7 separate regions of the Homo sapiens genome follow, and all the other regions are linked to region 1. Evidence: promoter capture Hi-C in 16 types of primary human blood cells and fetal thymus (Javierre and others, 2016). All regions are on one chromosome and are shown on one strand. Each heading gives the region's core, a stretch centred on a gene start or on the middle of the fragment in contact. The rest is flanking DNA. Distances are from core to core; before and after follow the strand shown.

The links. Contacts are between HindIII fragments. The CHiCAGO score rates a contact against its expected background, and 5 or more counts as called.
Region 2: a fragment that was not itself captured here is called in contact with the fragment with the promoter of TAFA4 in region 1 in 11 of 17 cell types (endothelial precursors, M2 macrophages, naive CD4 T cells and 8 more); the score reaches 11.5 in endothelial precursors.
Region 3: a fragment that was not itself captured here is called in contact with the fragment with the promoter of TAFA4 in region 1 in 9 of 17 cell types (M1 macrophages, M2 macrophages, naive CD8 T cells and 6 more); the score reaches 16.1 in M1 macrophages.
Region 4: a contact is called between a fragment that was not itself captured here and the fragment with the promoter of TAFA4 in region 1, in 3 of 17 cell types (M0 macrophages, endothelial precursors and naive CD4 T cells). The highest score is 13.7, in M0 macrophages.
Region 5: a contact is called between a fragment that was not itself captured here and the fragment with the promoter of TAFA4 in region 1, in 5 of 17 cell types (M2 macrophages, M1 macrophages, endothelial precursors and 2 more). The highest score is 9.3, in M2 macrophages.
Region 6: a fragment that was not itself captured here is called in contact with the fragment with the promoter of TAFA4 in region 1 in 4 of 17 cell types (non-activated CD4 T cells, M1 macrophages, endothelial precursors and 1 more); the score reaches 8.5 in non-activated CD4 T cells.
Region 7: a fragment that was not itself captured here is called in contact with the fragment with the promoter of TAFA4 in region 1 in 4 of 17 cell types (M2 macrophages, naive CD4 T cells, M1 macrophages and 1 more); the score reaches 11.6 in M2 macrophages.

Annotation. Positions count from the first base shown.
Region 1 is chr3:68,931,047-68,933,997 of GRCh38, reverse strand. It overlaps TAFA4 (TAFA chemokine like family member 4), which reads left to right and starts at 1,451. Exons shown (of 6, transcript NM_182522.5): 1 at 1,451-1,758. The HindIII fragment of the contact is 2,333 bases long and covers 1-2,312 here.
Region 2 is chr3:66,940,154-66,943,104 of GRCh38, reverse strand. The region is part of intron 1 of LOC105377144 (a long non-coding RNA gene); the gene reads left to right. Among named protein-coding and RNA genes, the nearest start is that of KBTBD8, 57 kb to the left of the region's middle. The HindIII fragment of the contact is 3,311 bases long and covers 1-2,951 here.
Region 3 is chr3:66,961,181-66,964,131 of GRCh38, reverse strand. All of the region lies in intron 1 of LOC105377144 (a long non-coding RNA gene), which reads left to right. Among named protein-coding and RNA genes, the nearest start is that of KBTBD8, 36 kb to the left of the region's middle. The HindIII fragment of the contact is 4,638 bases long and covers 1-2,951 here.
Region 4 is chr3:66,987,200-66,990,150 of GRCh38, reverse strand. No RefSeq gene overlaps it. Among named protein-coding and RNA genes, the nearest start is that of KBTBD8, 9.6 kb to the left of the region's middle. RefSeq lists enhancers at 1-700, 701-1,450, 1,451-2,200. The HindIII fragment of the contact is 891 bases long and covers 1,115-2,005 here.
Region 5 is chr3:67,007,118-67,010,068 of GRCh38, reverse strand. KBTBD8 (kelch repeat and BTB domain containing 8) reads right to left here. Exons shown (of 4, transcript NM_032505.3): 4 at 1-2,147. The coding sequence ends at 1,684. Among named protein-coding and RNA genes, the nearest start is that of KBTBD8, 10 kb to the right of the region's middle. The HindIII fragment of the contact is 3,515 bases long and covers 1-2,951 here.
Region 6 is chr3:67,032,802-67,035,752 of GRCh38, reverse strand. No RefSeq gene overlaps it. Among named protein-coding and RNA genes, the nearest start is that of KBTBD8, 36 kb to the right of the region's middle. The HindIII fragment of the contact is 299 bases long and covers 1,294-1,592 here.
Region 7 is chr3:67,065,132-67,068,082 of GRCh38, reverse strand. No RefSeq gene overlaps it. Among named protein-coding and RNA genes, the nearest start is that of KBTBD8, 68 kb to the right of the region's middle. The HindIII fragment of the contact is 4,397 bases long and covers 1-2,951 here.

The DNA.
Region 1 (2,951 bases), core at 202-2,701:
GACATCTTGATAACAAATTGCCTTTGAATGTAGAACCCCCATTTTAATAATAAGAGAGTAAGAGATTGAAACTGTTTAACAAGTAAAATGTGCTATGGTATGTGTGGTACGGGGAACAGAAGCAGAAGGCCTGCCATACGTTAGTTCAAGGGGTAGAGTCAGAGAAGGGTGAACATACTTTGGAGTGCAGCAGGGGCAGGATGGCACATAATTGTATGTCAATGCAGAGTAAAAGGACCAGAAGATGATAAGCCAAGCCAATGACAGTGAGCAGCATAGTGGTACAGAGCAACGTTTTCTAACTTTATGCATGCACCAGCCACTTGGGCATCTTGTTAAAATGAAGATTCTACTTCTGGGGTGGGGCCTGAAAGTCTGCAGTTCTAAAGTGTTCTCAAGGGACCGCTCTACGACGCCATGCTTTGCATACTAAAGAGCATGGATTTACTAGTTACCTGTGTAATCTTCAGTAAACGATTTAACTTCTCTGTGCTTCAGTTATCTCATCTATAAAATAGAGATCAGATGAACTAATCCCAGTAAAATGAATACCATTAAGTGACACTGATTATCAGTTACTTCACTTGCGGAAGAGTGGAGGGCATGACTAGGAATGGGGTGGGAGGAGGGAGTCAAAGAAGTCTTAGCTGAATTTTTTTTTTTTTTTTTTTTTTTTTTGAGACGAAGTCTCGCTCTGTCGACCAGGCTGGAGTGCAGTGGTGCGATCTCGGCTCACTGCAAGCTCCGCCTCCCCGGTTCACGCCATTCTCCTGCCTCAGCCTCCCGAGTAGCTGGGACTACAAGCACCCGCCACCACGCCTGGCTAATTTTTGTATTTTTAGTAGAGACGGGGTTTCACCGTGTTAGTCAGGATGGTCTCGATCTCCCGACCTCATGATCCACCCGCCTCAGCCTCCCAAAGTGCTGGGATTACAGGCGTGAGCAACCGAGCCCGGCCCCAGCTGTATTTTATACATTAAAAAAGAAAAGTATTTAGGTATTCATACGTGGGCCGAGTTTTCTCCTCTCTCATACAAGCACATTACACGCGAAGCCAGATTAGTTCATGAATGTGCTACTGCACGGGGTGGCTAAGAAATCCTGCTTGCAAACCGCTTTGGGTCCTGCGTGGAGAATGGTTTCGAGTGAGAGCCGAACCCTAAATCCGTCTTCCTTATGTGGAGCTCAACGCGACTCTCAGGTATTCAGGAAGAATACCTTTTGCTCAGCACCTGCGGAGTGGTGGCCACAGCGAGGCGCTCGGGAGAGGCGCCTGGAGGCCGGCAGTGGGGGCGCGCCGCCTGAGCAGGGGTGCGGGGCGGGGAGAAGGCCGGCCCACGTGGACCGCGGGGCCAGGCAGGGACAGGAGCAGCCGGGCGGCCCGGCCAATCAGCGCGTTCCGCGGCGGGCCCGGCCCCTCCTGGTCAGCGCGCTAGCTGGGCTCGGCTCCGCACTGCTAGCTGCGCGCCGCCCTGGACGGGGCGCACCGACTGCGCGCGCGGCTGCGGGCAAACATCGGGAGTCCTGCCTCAGCTGCCGCTTCTCCAGCAGCAGCTTCAGGCTTCTCCCGCAGGAGCTTCGGGCTTCTCCTGGTAGAGACGTGGGAACTTTTCTTCTCCTGGCGAGGCTGCAGAGGTGATGGGCCGCTCCCGGGGCTCCCGCGGGGAGGCGGCACGGTGAGCGTCCTCGGGCTCCGGTGCGGCGATCAGTACCTAGTTCCGGACGCGCCGGTCCGACTTGGATGCCGGCTCTAGTCGAGTAAGAAGGGTTGGAAGGGATAAGGAGGGGCGAGAGGATGGGGTGGGGGTGGATTTGGACCCTGTATTTAGGTGCTGTCTCGTGGGCAGCCGCTGCCTCTCGGCTGGTACCGAGTTAACTCAGCTCGGTGCAGCTCCCCTCATCCCGGCTCTCTGGGGCGCCGGGGAGAGTGCCTGTGCTGAGGTCGGCGTGCAACCCGAAGTTGGAAGGGGCACTCCGAAGTAAGGATGTGTGGCTGGAGAGAGGCAGCGGCCGCTTCCAGTTTCGGGGTTCATGTCTGACAGAATCCCCGGGGGTGCTCTGCTGATGCGGAGGAGGCCACTCGATGAATTGGTATAGGGGGTGGTGAACTCACCGTGAGCTCTTTTCTGGACAAGTCGACCTTAGCGCTTCATCCCTTTAATCTGAGCTAGGATCTTTCTAGGAGCAAGCAGGTGGGAGCCGGTCAGCGTCCCCCCGCCCCCACCCCCACCCTGAAGCTCTGGTTGCTAGGATCTTGCTTGAAGGGCGCAGCGAGCGCTCGGGAGGCGTCTTCCAGCTGGGAGCGCAAAGCTTCCCGCCCAAGTGGAGAACTGGAGCGGGTCTGGAAGTTGCGTCTCTTTCCGCGGGAGGCATCTCAGATTTGCCCACCAAGGTGGCATCTCTACATTTCTTTCGCTCTTTTTCCCACTTTGCCCTGTTAATCCGCTCCTAGAAGAGAGGGCATCCTTGACCCTACGCAAGGAGCTCGGGAGAGGATTGGAACTGGAAAGCTTGATCTCCTGCACCTGGTGAGGCTGCCCAAGCCAGACACAGTGCCGCTGGTGCGTTTTCTTCTCGAATCAGCATCATTTAACGTTTAGGGGCTCCACGGAGCCTTAGTAAAGCTGTGAATCAGCTCCTAAGCAGTATGTACATGCACGGGTTCACGGACTCGCCGAGACCTAGCCTGGTGCCCATCCCCCGTCACCGAGATTCAGGGACCCCCCTTTGGTTTAACGTCTTTATCCCTGAACTCTTTTCCCTTTTAACTTTTCAATGGTCTTCCCTCTGAGACAAGCAAGGTTGATGTGATGTGACAGGCGATCCCCGTGTGTGGGGATGGGCGCCTTCGAAGCTTTGGTCTGTTTCTGTCTCTAATATCCTTGGCATAAAGCTTGTCCACCATAACTCGTAGCTGCCACCTGCAGACTCGGTCACCCAAACTTGTGCAC
Region 2 (2,951 bases), core at 186-2,685, 2.0 Mb after region 1:
ATGTATGATTGGTCTATGTATCTGTTTTTATGCCAGTACCATGATGTTTTGTTTATTATAGCTTTATAGTATTTTTCGAAGTCAGATAATGTGATGTCTCCAGCTGTGTTGTTTTTGCTCACAATTGCTTTGGCTGTTCAGAGTCTTTTGTGGTTCCCTATAAAAGTTAGAATTTTTTTCTGTGTCTGCGAAAAATGTCATTGAAATTTTGATAGGGATTGCATTAAATCCATAAGTCATTTGGGGAATATGAACATTTTAACAATGTTAATTCTTCTAGTCCATAAACACAGGGTATCTTTCCATTTATTTGTGTCTTTTTCAATTTCCTTCCTGAATGTTTTATAGTTTTCAGTGCACAGGTCTTTCACATCCTTGGCTAAATTTATTCCTAAGTATCTTTTTGTAGTTATTCCACAAAAAATATTGTTTTCTTGATTTATATTTTGGATGTTAGTTATTAGCATATAGAAATACGACTGATTTTCATATGTTGGTTTTGCATCCTGCAACTTTACTGAATTCATTTATTAGTTCTAATAGTTTTTTGTGGAGTCTTTAGGGGTTTTTTTACATATAAAATCCTGTTTTCTGAAAACAGGGACAATGTAACTTCTTCCCTTCTAATTTGGATGCGTTTTATGTCTTTCTCTTGCCTAATTGTTCTGGCTAGAACTTCCAATACTATGTTGAATAGAAGTTATAAGCCAGTTCTGTATCTGAAAAGTGGATATTTAACAACCTGGCGATGAAGCTATTCATGTCATATGAGATAACACCTTGTGAAAGTACTTCATGAAAACACAATGTGCTGTGATTATCATGAGCAGATGGCTTTGAGCATGGAAAAGCCAGTGGTTACATGGCGGTTCAGGTAACTCCTTTCATGGAGAACTCTTGGTCTAAGAGGTGCTGCTTAGGAAAAACAGAGAACCATTTGGAAAGCTCAAACCTCAATTTGACCTAATTGGCTATCTATGAGCTGTGATTTGAGGAAAGAGTTCCAAGGGAAGGCCACCATTACCATCCAAAATAAATTCCCCATCTGCATGCTGATCCTTTAGATAGGGCACTTTAAAGACTTCCTTCATACCTGAGACCACAGTATTCTAGATAAATTCATGCTTTGTAATTTAGTCCTTGCTTATACTCATATCTGTGTGTGTGTGTGTGTGTGTGTATCTTGAGCAAATGCCAAATTCATTTCTTGTATCAAATAGAATTTTCTGCTTGTAGTTATCTGATATATATTTTCTGCCAAAAACAAATTATCTATATTAAATGATATAGATATCTATATTATCTATATATAGATATGATATAGATATCTATATTATCTATATCTAGATATGATATAGATATCTAGATATGATATAGATATCTAGATATGATATAGATATCTAGATATCTAGATATGATATCTAGATATCTAGATATCTATATAATAGATAATTATATCTATATTAAATGATAGAAATTATAAGTTTAGCCTTTAATACTAAACAGTATATTTAGTGTAGAGTGTTGGGAGTTAACTATATAAAGGAGATATGTAAAGGTTTCCTTTTTCTTAGTACTTTATCCAGATAAATATCCTAATTCAGATTTTACCAATTAACAGCCCCAATTTTTTTTTACTTCATCTAACCCATAATAACATATTCAAATTTAATTTAGCTCAAAAATTTTTGTTGAATACCAGCCCATGACCAGTGTTAGGTGGCAAATAAGTAAGATGACATCCCCCAAAATAAGTGTGATGAGAATCCTATCTACTAAGAGAGACTCAAATGATGACTTAATAAATATGGAATCCCAAAAGTCCATAAAAACTAAATTATCAGGGCTATCATTATAAAGAAATCATCTTACTTAAAACTAATCTGTACTTCTTATAAAGCAAATTATGTAACCCTTGTATTTGTGAGTTGTTATGCTGATTTATTTTCAGGTCAAAATGTCGGGAAAAGGTTAAGTATGTAAGATTTTTTTGGAAGTTGTCTCCTCTTTATTCCTGTTCCTGCGACACTTTGCCCACACTTTAGCTATTGTACTTATCATATTGCACTGTAATTATTTGTTAAATAAATGTTTTAAATTATTTATCCAGTCTCCCCCACCAGACACTGAACTTCTCCAGGCCAGAGTCTGTGTTTCTTCTTTATGTTCATCTTTGTGTTGTAGAGAACAAGACATAAGATGTTTTCCTCCTTCACTGCTAGGTTCATGGCTGAGACTTCTACAAAAAAAAAAAAAAATACATATGAGCAAGTTTTATATGACGTGAGAGTTTTCAGAAATGAAGAACCAAAGAAACAGGAAAACTTGTGTATTTTTATACTTAGGTTTAATGAAGAGTAGACAGCCATACAGAAGTATGATTGGACAAAGGTATGATCTAATCGGAATTAACTGGGGGCAACTTGTAAGGCCTATTTGTTCAGATTCTTCTTGGCATCTCTATGTCTTCATTCCTTCCTCCAGATACAGGAAAGATGTCTCTGGAATGAGGGTCTTATGACCTACTTTAAAGAAAGATCAGATAATTCTTTTACGACCTGCTTCAGAGGAGAACTTTGGGAGGAGGTCAAAGAGAACTTCCTGCTTCTGCTTTTTTCTGAAACATCAAGAGGCCATATTTTGGAATGGCATGTCCTAAACTCTGTCCGTATCGATAGTATCTAGTACCGTACTTGGCACAAAAGAGGGCTCACTGAATTTTTATCAAATACATACTTCAAATGTTCTGTGCAGTTTCTGAGTTCCTATCTATCAGTAAGAGTTCAAATCATAATTCAGCTCTTTCTCACTACAAGGACAGATTCAAAATGCAAAGATTGTTTTCCCACTTCTTAAACCTGGATTAGGCTTTTGAATAAGAATTTGTTGGTTTATGTGTGTTGCATAGAATTATCGTACGTGAAAATAGAATTTTCCTCTGACAATATCTT
Region 3 (2,951 bases), core at 230-2,729, 2.0 Mb after region 1:
ATGCCTACTACTGCCTTTCTAATCTCCCTGGAAGATCATTACTTTCTCTTAATTATGCCTACCACTGCCTTTCTAATCTCCCTGGAAGATCATTCTACATTTACTCTCTGTATTAGCAAGCCCACTAGCAGGAAACAGACAGTACACTGGAATTAGGATAATTCAAGGATGGTTTAGCAAAGAAACTATTTATAAACATGGAGGCAAGGCACACGGAAACCACAAAGAATAGTGCAACCCCTTGGGGCTGCTATCACCTTAAGAATCATCGGAAACTTGAGTTGGTATATTTTAGGATTGTAAAAAATTAACTTTAAAATGTCTCCAGGTTGCTATTTCTATGATGTGACACAGGAAGGATCCACTTCAGATGTGTATTAAATACTTTTTAAAAATTGTCATGTATCTTTTTTCATAAGATGAGGACCATTTTAATTTATGTTAATTTGTTAAATAGTTTTGTTGTGATAGGGATTTCTTTCTTGTGAGGATGTGCCTTATATTCCTATGTTATTTTTCCTTCTATATTTAGTTGAGACAATCATATGATGAACAACCGCTTAATGATTACTGCAATCTGAATATGACTACTCAGTCTATGATTTAAGAGATTTACTGGGAAATAACTTGACACCTCAAAGAAATATTTAAGTTAGAGGAGAAGAATAAGCCAGTGATTTTGCTTTTTCTTTTTCCCCTGATATGCCTTAGTTTTTCTTATTCCATATTTTATTTGGGGAAATTGTATGCCTCTTTAAGCCCCCAATTTATCTATTGTATCTTCTGTACCCTGGTAGCCTTTTCTCAATTCTCAGAAGGCAATTTTCCCCCTTTGAACCGCTTTTGCTTTTTCTTTTATTTTATTATCCTCTTCTCTGGGTGGCTTCATCTTTAAGGTCTCGTTTTCAGTTTTATCTTTATCAATCTTCTTCTTCCTTATTGATCTTGTCTTTCATTAAGTGTGATGTATATGGGGATGATGAAGATAATTAAGGGTTGAAAACAGAATGATTAATTTAGCATGGGAAGACAAATAGAACAGGGGCAAAATGTTTAACCTGACTCCACCTCCAGGGCACTACTTGTATCAAAGAGTAAAAGACACATGGAATTCAATTGCTTCTGGGCATGTAAGTGATGCAGTTCCAGGTAGAACTGCAAATGATATTAGGAAGAGGATTGCCTCCTGGAGGTTGGAAGTTTGCTCCTGTGGCATTCACTTCTGTGTGGGCCCTCGCTCGACTCATGGGTGCTAGCTCTGGTTTTGTTATTAAATTGCTTGGACTTTGTTCTTTAAGTTACCTCATCTGCTATAAAAAGGATTTTAGATAGACTCTAGTGTATGGACAGAATCATCTGATTTTGCTCTTTGAACCCTACATTTTATGACACAAAACAAATTCGCAGTTAAGATAAAATACAATGCCTTTTAAGTAGTCTGCCTTTTATATCCTTATTTATTTGAACTACTTGATTTTGAGATTAAATAAGTTTCTAAAAGTTGAAAATGTGATGAGAAACATACCCAAAGATATTTCTTCAAGGGCATACATTACAGCGTTGCTTATAAAAAGAAAATGTCAGAAACAGAAGCCTAAATGACTATCAGCGGAAGACAGATATCCATTTATAATTCAAACAACAAAGCTATGCAAATATTAAAGTAGATGCATTGTGCTGCCATATGAAGACCTCCGAAGTACATTTAATGGGAAAAGAAAAAAGTGGCAGGCCAGTTAACATAAGCCCATCTGTGTTCAAAGGGGGAAAAAAGGGCTATACTTACATACGCTTGAATATGCAGACAAATCGAACTAGGGGTGGGCTGGGGAAAGTAAGCTCTTTGGAACTGCCTGAATTTTCATTAGTTGCATGCATTACTTTGTTTTTTACAAAAGCATAATGAAGACTTCCTTAATATTTCCTTGATTACAACTGAAATGTTTATCTTTGTTTCCCTTTACTTTCCTTCCTGAACAATCTTGAACAAGCAGTTAGGTAGGGCACAGCAAGGTAGGCTTTGCATGAAGGAGTAGCCTGATGTAGGGTGTTGAAGACCAAGCAGGGCAAAGAGGGCATCCGAGTGAGTGTGGGAAGGCATGGGGACTCACAGCCCAAGCAGAATGGGGAGGGCATCCTTACAGAGAGTCAGCTTGGTGTCAGAGCCCATATAAAAGAGGAGATGGCTCTATGGGAAGCAAGAGCCTAGGTGGGGTAAGGAAGATGTCCATACATGGGAGTGGCCAGGCATGGGGTGTCAGAGCCCAAGCTGGGTGAAAAGGATTTTCACACAAGAGGGTTGCTCAACAAGGGGAATCAGAGCCCAAGCGGGCTGAGAAGACATCAACATGGGAGAGATGGGTTGGGAAATTGGTTACAGTGATGAGTAAATATAATTATTATGGGGGCCTGGTTCCTTAGTCTTAGAAAGACAATACAAATACAGAAAGGGAAAGGACTAGGATGGATTCTGTGATGTTGGATTAAAAATCAGATATATTGGTATGAATTCATGAATTTCAATATATAGATAGAAATCAATATCTATTTCTATAGATAGATATAGCAATCAATATATGTAGAGATAATTATAGTTGTCTGGATATATGTAGATAGGTATAATTATGTGGTTATGTATTATATGTATACACAGACTTAAATTGGTACACATATAGATATATGTGTGTGTGTATATGTGTGCAGTTTTGTGTATGTGTTCCCTAGAACACACAGTATCCACTGAGAAGGCTTGTGAGCAACAACACACCAATATCAATGAGCACATCTAGCACCCAAATCTTGGCTTCTATATATAGTCTCCACTAGAAGGTTCAGGGTTTCTTGGAGGATTGACTGATATCTGGGCTAGGGCAGTGAAAGAAGAAGGTGAGCCTGGAACATCTTGTGCCAGAAAGCAAGGAAGTGCTCAGATAATGATTGGCACATGGCAG
Region 4 (2,951 bases), core at 311-2,810, 1.9 Mb after region 1:
CACATGGGAAAATAAACCAAAACAATTTATTGCAGGGATTCTCCCCAAGGGTGATTTTTGTCCCTCAGGGAATATTTGGGAATCTCTAGAGACATTTTTGGTTGTCTCCTTTTGGGGTGTGAATGTTGATACTGGCACCTAGTGGATAGAGGCTAGGATGGCTATACCTCAGCAAAGAATTATCTGGCCCCAAATGTCAATAGTTAAGAACTCTGGGCTCTTATAATTTTCACGCTTTTCTCACACACATGCCTTAATCTATTGAAATGAAAATTATGCCTTCGAAATGTCTATAGTTGAGACTATATACACCAATACTCATGAAGTCCCACTGTGCTCTATCACTGCACATTTTATGTCCAGGCATATGGACTTCTATTCAGAAGTGCAGATTTAGTATATTCATTTTGAGCTCCAAATGAAAGAGTTGACTATATTTTCAAAAATATCTTGTAATTCAAACTTAAAACACTGCCCTTCAAAACAGTACCATAAATATATCCTCCAACTTGATGAAAGCAGCAGTCTGTCCCATTGGAAAAACAACACGGCATGACATAATCGGACACTGACCATTGACGATAAGCTTCATGTGAGAGCTATTGTGAGATCTTTTTTACAAGAGCACATTTTTCTAAGAGCAGTCCCTGCCACGATAGGAGCAGTCAGGAAAAGATCTACTGTAAGTGACCAAGGAAAGGGGTGTGTTTAAGCTCAGTGGTTCTAATTGAGTTTGTGAGACAGGCTTTGTCAAACACAGTTGAATGCAGAGGCGAAAGGCATGTGGAAGGAATTTTTTATACTTAACGGTGGGGAACTATTAGTAAACTACACTGAGGAATCTTTGATCTTTCAGCATCAAATTGTGTTAGAATTTAGGTTTAATGTTATTTCCCAGAGGGTAAGTTTTGTTTCCTAGTCTGAGCCTCAAGCCTTGCAGAAGAACTGACTCCGGAACTGACTACCTGGCAAAAGGATATTTGTGGGTTGTTAATTTGTGAATCAGAAGGCAAACCCTGGCCCAGCAGTATGTTAATCCCGATGGCTGAGAGGGAGCCAATATGATCACAAGAATGCACACAGCTTGGGGTCTTAGAAACAGCTTAAGAAAGCTTCAACTATGTTTGGAATGTACCGAATCAATAAATTGCTAATTTTTCCACCTGTGTGTTAGCCTACTTACTCTTCAGGGAGTTGAGGCTTGTAGTGCAAATACAATCCAAACACTTTATTAATTGCTCAGGCTAAAACAGGTCAAAGGAGCATGCCTAAGCTCAGTTTGAAATTCTTTTACTTACAAGGTTCCTGCAGTCACAGGGGAAATTTAATTGCTGTGCAAATTCTTCGTCAAAAAATTGGTCCCTTTTGTATCTGTCCTTGGTGAATACCAGCCATTTCTTCCTTTCACCCTCTAGGCCCTGTTTATTAGGTAAATGCCTTTGTTCTAAAAGAATACAAGCTAAAGGCCGGGTGCGGTGGCTCACGCCTGTAATCCCAGCACTTTGGGAGGCCGAGGCGGGTGGATCATGAGGTCAGGAGATCGAGACCATCCTGACTAACAAGGTGAAACCCCGTCTCTACTAAAAATACAAAAAATTAGCCGGGCGCGGTGGCGGGCGCCTGTAGTCCCAGCTACTCGGGAGGCTGAGGCAGGAGAATGGCGTGAACCCGGGAAGCAGAGCTTGCAGTGAGCCGAGATTGCGCCACTGCAGTCCGCAGTCCGGCCTGGGCGACAGAGCGAGACTCCGTCTCAAAAAAAAAAAAAAAAAAGGAATACAAGCTAAAGTGAAGGGCCATGATTTCTACTACTTATTGTCAAGTGGTATGGCACTAATAATAAGTATAAAAGTACATATGCAGAAAATAATATAGCAAACGTGGTAAAATGTCAACCTTTTGGTAAATTAAAGACTTTGTGGGAATTCACTGTACTCTTGCAGGTTTAAACATTTTCAAAAGAAAAAGTAAAGAAACAAAAGTAGTAGAAAGGAGGTTCTACTAAGCTTGAACTGTTGCAATGAGATGACAATAAAAATTATTTTGTTTTTTCCTTAAAGAAAATATGGCAGAACTATGAATGTTTGGTTTTTTGTTTGTTTTGAGACAGGGTCTTACTCTGTTGCCCACGCTGGAGTGCAATGGTGAGAGCACAGTTCACTGCAGCCTCAACCTTCTAGGCTCAACTGATCCTCCCACCCCAGCCTCCCAAGTAGCTGGGATTAGAGACATGTGCCACCATGCCCAGATAATTTTTAAATCATTTGTAGACACAGGGTCTCACTATGTTGCCCAGGCTGGCCTCGAACTACTGGGTTCAAGCAATGCTGGACCCTCGGCCTCCCAAAGTGCTGGGATTACAGGTGTGAGTCACCCCACCTGGCCAGAGTGAGTGTTTGGATATGATGGAAAGCAGTACAAGTTGAGTATTCCTTATCACAAATGCTTGGGACCCATGTATCTGACTTTGAAATGTTTTGGATTTTAGAAAACTTGAACATATATAATGAGATATCTTGGGGATGTGACCCAAGTCTAAACACAGAATTCATTTATGTTTCACATATACCTTATATACATAAGCTGAAGATAATTTCATATAATACTTTTAATAATTTTGTTCGTGAAACAAAGGTACAACTGTGTGTTTGACTGCAACTTGGAACATGACTTCAGATGTGGAATTTTTTTTTTTTTTACTTTTTTTTAATTATACTTTAAGTTTTGGGATACATGTGCAGAACGTGCAGGTTTGTTACATAGATATACACATGCCATGGTGGTTTGCTGCACCCATCAACCCGTCATCTACGTTAGGTATTTCTCCTAATGCTATCCCTTCCCTAGCTCCCCACACCTCAACAGATATGGAACTTTCTACTTGTGGCATCATGTTGGCACTCAAAAAATTTGGTATTTTGAAGGATTTCAGACTAAGGATGCTCAACTGTATT
Region 5 (2,951 bases), core at 269-2,768, 1.9 Mb after region 1:
GACTAGATTTTAAAATGTTAATTCTAGAAATGCTGTCCATTTTAACTTCTGCTTCAGAAAACATTCCCTACTTGTAGAGGTCTATGTAAAGCAGTTTGGAAAGTTTCTGAAAAACGAGGTATGTGATGCAAAGAGGCAATGTTTTCAATTTGTTTCACAGTATCACATTACAATTTGTGCAAGATTTTTAAAATACGAACCATGCCAGTTTGCTTTCAAGTGAATACAAATATTGTGATTGAGGGCAAAATCTGTCCTATGCTTATACCCTTTACGAATTACTCTAGGCTTAGTAAAACATGTTACTGATCCAAATGCCTGCCTTAGGTATACAAATAAGTTGGTTTATCCTTCATGTTAATATTCCTAACTGATGATTGTTAGAAATTTCATCAGTTAAATGCAAAAAATGCTTTAGTACCTAGAAAGCTATGGTTCTGTTCACTCACTCTTTTCCTTTTCAATCACCTTCAGCTAGAAGGAGGATTCCAACGTAAAAGTATTCATCACTGTTAAGTGCAAAAATGGAAAAAAAAAATGAGGTTTTAATTGTAATATGAAACTTAAAGACATTAAATTAGACCACTGCAGGAATTTTGTTTCTGGAAAGCAGAATTTTAAAAGTAGGTATAAAACTTCACATTATGCTCTGTGCAGAAGAGAAATAAGTTACCTTTCCTTGTACCAATAATGAATGGACAGGTAGATGGAAGAGAAGGTTGGGCTACAAATGGCCCATGTTAGTGCAAACTGGGTATAATGTTCCTACTATTCTAAGATTGAGTCCAGTTAGATGAATAACTGGCCATACCCTCCTATCACATAAGTAGAGAATCTTGTGAAATCACAAGAGTTCAACAGGTAAAGTACTATGGCCATGAAATCCACACCAATTTGAAAGATAGGCATAGGCTCAGACCATTTAAATCCATCTAGTTATACACATGAATTAAGTTAGACTAGCACCAGCCACCTGTGAATATGAGCACTTTTCCAGATTTTCACAAAAGAGACAGTGTTAGCACTTGAAAAAGTCATCGACAGAAAACTGCCACTTTAAAACTTTAGCTTAACTTAAAATTACATGGGAAATGGAAACAATCAGACTAAAAGCTCTTTCTGAGACTAATTTTTTCTTCGATCTACTCTAATAATAGAACACATTTAAATCTCAGTACACTTGAAAACAGTACACAAAAATAGATACATATAAATATTAAGAATGAGGATCTAAGTTAGTGCTTCTCTGTGTTAGAGAGGTCACAGCTAAAGTCCTAGTGATATTGCCTCAGATTGTTACCCGTATTTAAAATTAAAAGTCACATCAAACAAGTTTAGACGTCTTTACCCAATAATACCCTAAATGCTCTTATAAGAGTGCATAGTTGTCCTGATTCATCTGGTACCTCAGTTACTATTTATCACAAAATTATAAAATGAAATGATTAATTTTATGCCAGGAAAAAAAAATGCTGATAATTGCACTTTGTTATCTTTTCCTTACTGAAATGAAATGTCACAAGGATGAAGGAAAATCCCTCCCTACCCTGCAATCTTTAAGCATACCCATTTTCCATGTATAAAACTCTCTCAGCTTTCTGAAATACTGTCAGCACTCTTTTGTATCAAAGACAAGTTTCCTAAGAATGAGATGCCAGTGATGCACTAAGGCCTGCTACTCATTTAGAGTACTTTCTGAAGACACTGAGGATACAGTTTAGCAACAGCACATTCAAAATGCCGGCCAAGGTCCCAGAGCCGATCTGGGGTCTCATACACTTTCATCCACTGGTCAGCAATGTCATCATATTGGTAAAGGGAATTTTTTCTGCTGGTTCTGAAGACGTGTTCTTCAACAGTCACTTGAGTAGCTCGAACAAATAAATGGAGTTTGTTCTGGAAAAGTACCAGTTTAAGGTATGGATTTATGGACTGATCACATGGAAAGTCTTTCTTACGAGTCCATTTATTTAGCTCAATATCATAGGCTTCTACAGTAAACATACGTTGATGATTTCCACAGGTTCCAGCTATGTAGTAGATAGAGTCCTTGTATACAGCTGCTAAGCCCTGGATTCTAGGCACAGTCATGGGGGTTAAGAAACCCCAGTAGTCTTTTTGAGGCTCATAGAAGAGAAAAAATTCTCCTAAAAAAAAAAAAAAGAAAACAAGAATATGTAAATTTTTATGTTTGGTTTTTGGTTATATGTTGTAACTACAACCTCTAAAGATTAAAGGGCATAATTTGCTATATATTTCACTTTCTAAAACATTTCTTTTATAATCTCCAGAGATACATTCATATGGGTTACAAAATACCTTAAAACTTTGTCATTCCATGACACAATATAACAGATAATATTATAATCAACCTGAATTGGGAGGTTTGTATTGGGAAGGTACAAGGAGTTACTTGGGCTTGATGGCAGAATTGTTAAGAGCTTGATTCTGGCCAGGCACAGTGGCTCACGCCTGTAATCCCAGCACTTTGGGAGGCTGAGACGGGTGGATTACTTGAGGTCAGGAGTTTGAGACCAGCCTGGCCAACATGGTGAAACCCCATCTCCATTAAAAATACAAAAATTAGCCAGGTGTGGTGGCAGGCACCTGTAATTCCAGCTACTCAGGAGGCTAAGGCAGGAGAATCACTTGAACCCAGGAGGTGAAGGATGCAGTGAGCCAAGATCACGCCACTGCACTCCAGCCTGGGTAACAATGTGAGACTCCATCTCAAAAAAAAAAAAAAAAACACAAACTTGATTCTATTTGCTCTATCCAATTTGTGTGTTTATAGAAAATTCATTTTACTCTAGCTCTAAAAAAGCATTATTAGTAACGTTCAGCCAGTAAGACCAAAATGCATACATGTAACATCATCATAAATATGCCATGATAAATGTGTATGCTATTTAATTAGAAGACAGCAGATGGAATTGTGCAGATTTATGCTT
Region 6 (2,951 bases), core at 194-2,693, 1.9 Mb after region 1:
GAGAACTTTCTCAAGCTGGTGTCAGGGATATGTGGCAGAACATGAAGTCAGAGAGACGGGAAGCATGAGAGCTCTCCCTGCCATTGCGGGTCTGAAGGTGGAGCCAGTCACATAAAAAGCATGAGAGGGAAATGAGTTCTGCAAGTAAGCAAGAAGCTCCTAAGAGGACCCTGAGTGCCAGGGGAGAACTGCAGCCCCCACTGATACCTCGATTTTGACTTATTTTATTTTATTTTATTTTACTTTATTTTATTTTTTGAGGCAGGGTCTTACTCTGTTGCCCAGGTTGGAGTAGAGTGGCACAATCACAGCTCACTGCAGCCATGACTTCCTGGGCTCAACCAATCCTTCCTTCTCAGCCCTCAGTAGCTGCAACTACAGGCATGTGTCACTGCACCCAGCTAACTTTTAAACATTTTTTTTTTTGTAGATACATGGTCTCCCTATGTTGCCCCAGCTGGTCTTGAACTCCTGGGATCAAGCAATCCTCCTGCCTTGGCCTTCCAAAGTGCTGGGATTACAGGCATGAGCCACTGCACCTGGCCTATGACTAATATTTATAGTACACAAAATCCCAATATAATGGAATCAGGTTCAAGTGGTTCAGATTACTAGAAATCACAGTGAGAATTGGAGGTAAAGCTGACACAGATTCTCTGAACAGAACTAGCAAGTGAGAAAAATGATAGGGCACACTGGCAAATCAAGAAGTAGAATTGAGTTAATGGTGATGGCATCAAAATAGATAGAAACCTTTATATAAGCATGCATTAAGCCCTTCAAAGAACTGAAGAGGGTGTGTGTGTGTGTGCACACATATGTGTGTGTATGTGTGTGTGCATGTGTGTCTGTATAAGATGCGGGTGTTTGGGGGCAGTTTCGTCATGACTAAGACCATTGGGACATCTGCAGTCAAAGAAGGTAAAGGGAATCCAAAGTCTGGTACTTGATTGTAGAACAAAAAAACTGTGATGAACTCAAGCACGTATCAGTTCACCCTTTCTTCCAATTTGCAAGACACGGAGCCTATAATCAATCACTATTTTTAGAGAAAGTAATGATTAGATGGAAAGGAATCAGCAGAAAGCACATGGTTTACAGAATTGTTTCTCACAGAGGTTATTGTAACCAGAGCAACACATTGTCTTCATTATGGGTCATAAAAAAATTGCTCATTTCCCTAGACTTTTTTTGCTGTGATGCAACATTATTTATATTTTACAAGTTGACGTAAATGGTATCTTGATGAGCATTTTTGGAAAGAGTTGCTCCTTGATTAAGAAATGCTAAGCTTTCTCTGATTGATTCTAAATTATGCTATACTTTTTTTTTTTTGGCAAATGTCTATTGTTATAAATCTGGCCATTAGATATTTCTAGGAACATCAGTATCAAGTGAGAAGCCACTGTATCTCTCTAGGGTCTGTGAGCCTCTGAAGTTAAATACTTGGGAGTATAAGTGCATATTTCTGTAAAAAAAATAAAAATAAAAATAAAAATAAAAAGAGGCCATAGTGTCATCAGATGTTCAAAAGAGTCTGGAACTAAGTTTTTTTTTAAATTAGGAAACCCTTTGCTCTGAATGTACAAGCTTAGTTATTTATTTCAGGTTGTAACCTTGCCTTGGCCCAGTGTATTTTCCATTAATCTCCAGAAGTGCTTTAGATTCATGAGAGTAGACCCCCCACGCTCAACCCTGTGTGACAGGAAGGAGCCCAATTAAATAAATACACGTTTTTGAAATAATTATGTTGTGACTGGTGAGGATCAAATAATTAATTCATCTTCTTTTTTAAACTTTTAGCGAACATTTCACAATGATGCTCTTTCCACCTTTGTAAAATAGGGAGATGTCATTTGTAGTAGGCACAATGGTTAGCCCACATGAGTGAGACTTAGTATAGATTTTAAAATACTGAGGTTCAGCCATAACAATAAAGTGGTTCTCAGAGTGACAAACAACATGTGCTTAAAATCTTTCAGTGGTGCCCCCAAATTCCTAGAATAAATCCCAAATTCCTTCAGTAGCTTTGTAATCTAACCCCAAGTGTACAGGTTTATCTTTTAATATTACAGAGTTTCTTAGCTTAAGCATTACTGACCTTGAGAGCTGGTCTTTGTTGTGGAGGCTGTCCTGTGCACTGGCGGATGTTTAGCAGCTTCCCTGACCTCTACCCACTACAAGCTAATAGCAGCCCCCTCTGCCACTTGTGACACCAAAAGTGTTGCCAGAAATTGACAAATGTTCCCTGGGGCCAAAGTCTGCCTTGATTAAGAACCACTCATTTATAGTCCTTCATTCTCTCAACTCATCTCCACCATGATGAACTTCCTTCCATTTCGGAATGCACATTTCTTTCTCCTCTGTACCTTTGTACCTCTGTACCTTTTATGTATGCACCACACTTCCCACTCTGTTATGCCTAGCAAACTCCTCCGTCTTATCTTCAGGACTCAGCTTAGCAGCCTGGGTTAGATAGGTACAGCTTCCACCTGCATTTCCTCTTTCACAGCCTAGCTCTGTTGTATGATTTAGTTGAAGGTTTATCTGTACCTCCTATTAAACCATAAGTGGCAAGAGATCAAGATCATTACTGAGGTCTTCACTGCTGTATTGCATTGCCTGGCACATATTAGGAGCACAATAAAGAGTTGCTGAATAAACTAACATTTGAGCCCCACAAAGATAAGTCAACACTACTATAGTGTTACTTTTTTAAAAAATTGCATTTCCTTGTACAGTTATTAAACATTAAGAGTTCAAAAATAACCTTGGGAAAAAACTGGTACAACGTGTGTTTAACACAAATCACTGTTTCAACTTAATTCTTTCCATGCATTTGACCTTTACAAGTCTTTTTAGCTTAATTTATTTTAGATTTAAAACCTGTATTTTATCACAATTTGGCAGATTTTTGTTTGCTGTCTATTAGCATGGTAAAGGTCACATCA
Region 7 (2,951 bases), core at 285-2,784, 1.9 Mb after region 1:
CCTCTCCATCTTTCGGTGGGTTTTTAAAACTTATTATTGATTTACATACATTAAAATTTACTCTTTTTAAAGTACAGCTTTATGAATTTTGGAAAATGCATCAATTCCTATAACCACCGCCACAATCAAGATTCCTGATCCTTAACCCCTGGCAACCATTCTATCCCCTATAGTTTTGCGTTTTTCAGGATGCAATGTAAATGAAATCTTGTAGCCTTTGAGTATAGTTTCTTTTGCATCTGAGATGCGTTCAAATTGTTTATGTGTCAATATTTTTGCTTTTTATCACTGAGTAGTATTCCACCATATGAATGCATCTCAGATTATCTATTGGCTCACTGAAGGGTTCCTTCCAATTTTTTATGATTATGAATAGAGCTGCTATAAGCCTTTATGAAAAGGTTCTTGTGTGACCATGTTTTCATTTCTCCTCGGTAAATAGCTAGAAGTAGAATTACTGGTTCTATGGCATAAGTGAACATGTAACTTTATAAGAAACTCTCAACCTATTTTTCAAAGTGGCTTTATTATTTTAAACTCCCCACAATGTACGAGAGTTTTAGTTTCCCTGCATCCTGGTCAGTACTTGGTGGTGTCAGTTTTGTCATTGTTGTTTTCGGTACTGTTTCTTCGTTGGTTATGTTAGCTATTCTAATAGATATGTAGTGGCATTTCATTGTGGTTTTAATTTGCATTTCCCCAGTGACTAACAATATTAAACACCATTTCATGTGCTTATTTGCCATATCTTCAATGGTGAATTGTTTGTTCAAATCTTTCATTCATTGTTTAAGTTGGGTTATTTTCTGATTACTGAGTTTTGAAAGTTCTTTATATATTCTGGATACAAGTCCTTTATTAGACACATGACTTGCAAACCTTTGTCTCAATCTGTGGCTTGCTTTACAATCTCTTAACAGTGTCTTTCCCAGAGCAGAAATTTTTATTTTGGTGAAATCCACTGAAATGCCTTTGTAATTTTATCAAAAAGTAATTGAGCATATCTGCATAGGTCTATTTCTGAACTCTCTATTCTGCAGCATTAATTTATGCTGTTGGAAATTTTAATTAGACTTTAAAAGTTAAAATTAAAATCTTTTGTTTATTAACTCAGAATTTATATTTTACAAAAACAGTTGAAATTTATTTTGTTCCAAGCTAACCTGCAAAGATAAATGACTATATTAATAGAGAGTTGAAATTTATGTAATATCACTTGACCTGAGATTTAAATGAGCCCTCAATAAATGTATTCTATAATAAAGTTGGTGACATAAATAGGTACCACACCATGTCCCAAAGCATTTGTCACAGATCTTCTATGAGGTGCACTACCAAGAAACAAACAATTTTCCACCATCAAAACTATTTCAGAAGCCCTGCTTGCTCTTATATGTAGCTTCTCAGTAATGAACAATGTACATATCACAGGCTCTGAGTAGTCCTACAGTGAAGGGCCATTTAGTGTTGTATAGTCCAGAATGTTCCAAATATACTACATTGATCTTCCATCAACCCTTATCAACATTTTCCAAAAGACCATTTTGGTCATTCTTCACGTATTTGTAGGTTTGTGTTCTCTCCGGTGGAGAATTCCCAACATGTTTTTCATATACATTTTTTCTCTTTTTTTTTGAGATGGAGTCTCGCTCTGTTGCCTAGGCTAGAGTGCAGTGGCGTGATCTTGGCTCATTGCAGCCTCCAACTCTCAAGTTCAAGCAATTCTCTTGCCTCAGCCTCCCAACGTAGCTAGGATTACAGGCCACGCCATCACTCCTGGCTAGTTTTTGTAATTTTCGTAGAGACCAGATTTCACTACGTTGGCCAGGCTGGTCTTCAACTCCTGGCCTCAAACAGTCTGCCTGCCTCAGCCTCCCAAAGTGCTCAGATTACAGGCGTGAGCCACCCCGCCCAGCCTCATATCCTTTTTTTCAATATAGTTTGAGCATCCTTTTTAAACCTACTTCTCTTCCACTGATTATTAATTTAATTTTTTTAGTTCTTTGTAATTGAGGCTTTTCTGTGGAAAATGAGTGAATCATTTAGGATGCAACAAAGGACTTAAACTTGAACATGTTGTAACGTTTTATGCTTTGTGCAAACAGAAATAGCTACTACACTTAATTACAAATCAAACTCCTCAAATGGCAGACCTCATAGTATTTATTAAAATCAGGATATGTTGATGTTTTAAGGCATACTATCATCACAATACATTCTTAACTCTGTGAAATAACAAATAGAAAAACAAAATGCAAATTACTACCAACAAATCAAACTGTTTTGAAAATTGATTATATGATGTAAAGTTTGAAAAGCAATGAAGATAATCATTATAAGAAATAAAGTTAACTACATTTTGTATTTCTAGCCACAAATATGCTGCATATTTAGTGTGCAGTCTAAAATTAACAAAATTGTCTCTGAACAGTTGACAGTCCAAAGAATAATTCTAAATTGGTTTTAGAAAAAAAAGCTGCCGTGTTCACATTTCAGAGAAGAAGATGTTTGTAGAAAACTACACAAGTTTTAAAAAGTATTGTCTTGTTAATATCAATTAGATAGAAAAATAGCTTGTATAATTAGAACATATCCATATATTTTAATATATTTATCCACATAGTAAATATTTCTAACCAACTAATCAAGGCATGTATTTGAAAAGGTATCAGACTATGTTATCACTTGGAATGGAAAACAGAGTCTACTAAAACTGTTGATCACATAGAAGAGGGGAAAACTTAAAGTGGAAATTAGCAATGATTCAAGGATTTTCTACTAACTGAAAATGTCTAGAATCTAGAATATTTCACAATGAATGTTTCAGAGCACTGGGCTTATCTTTTGGGAATCTAATACAGCTGCAATAATATGGTTTTAATTCCAAGGCAACTCTGATATGTCAGGGCTACTTGTTGGCTGACATGTATATCCAGTGAATTGTTATCTGC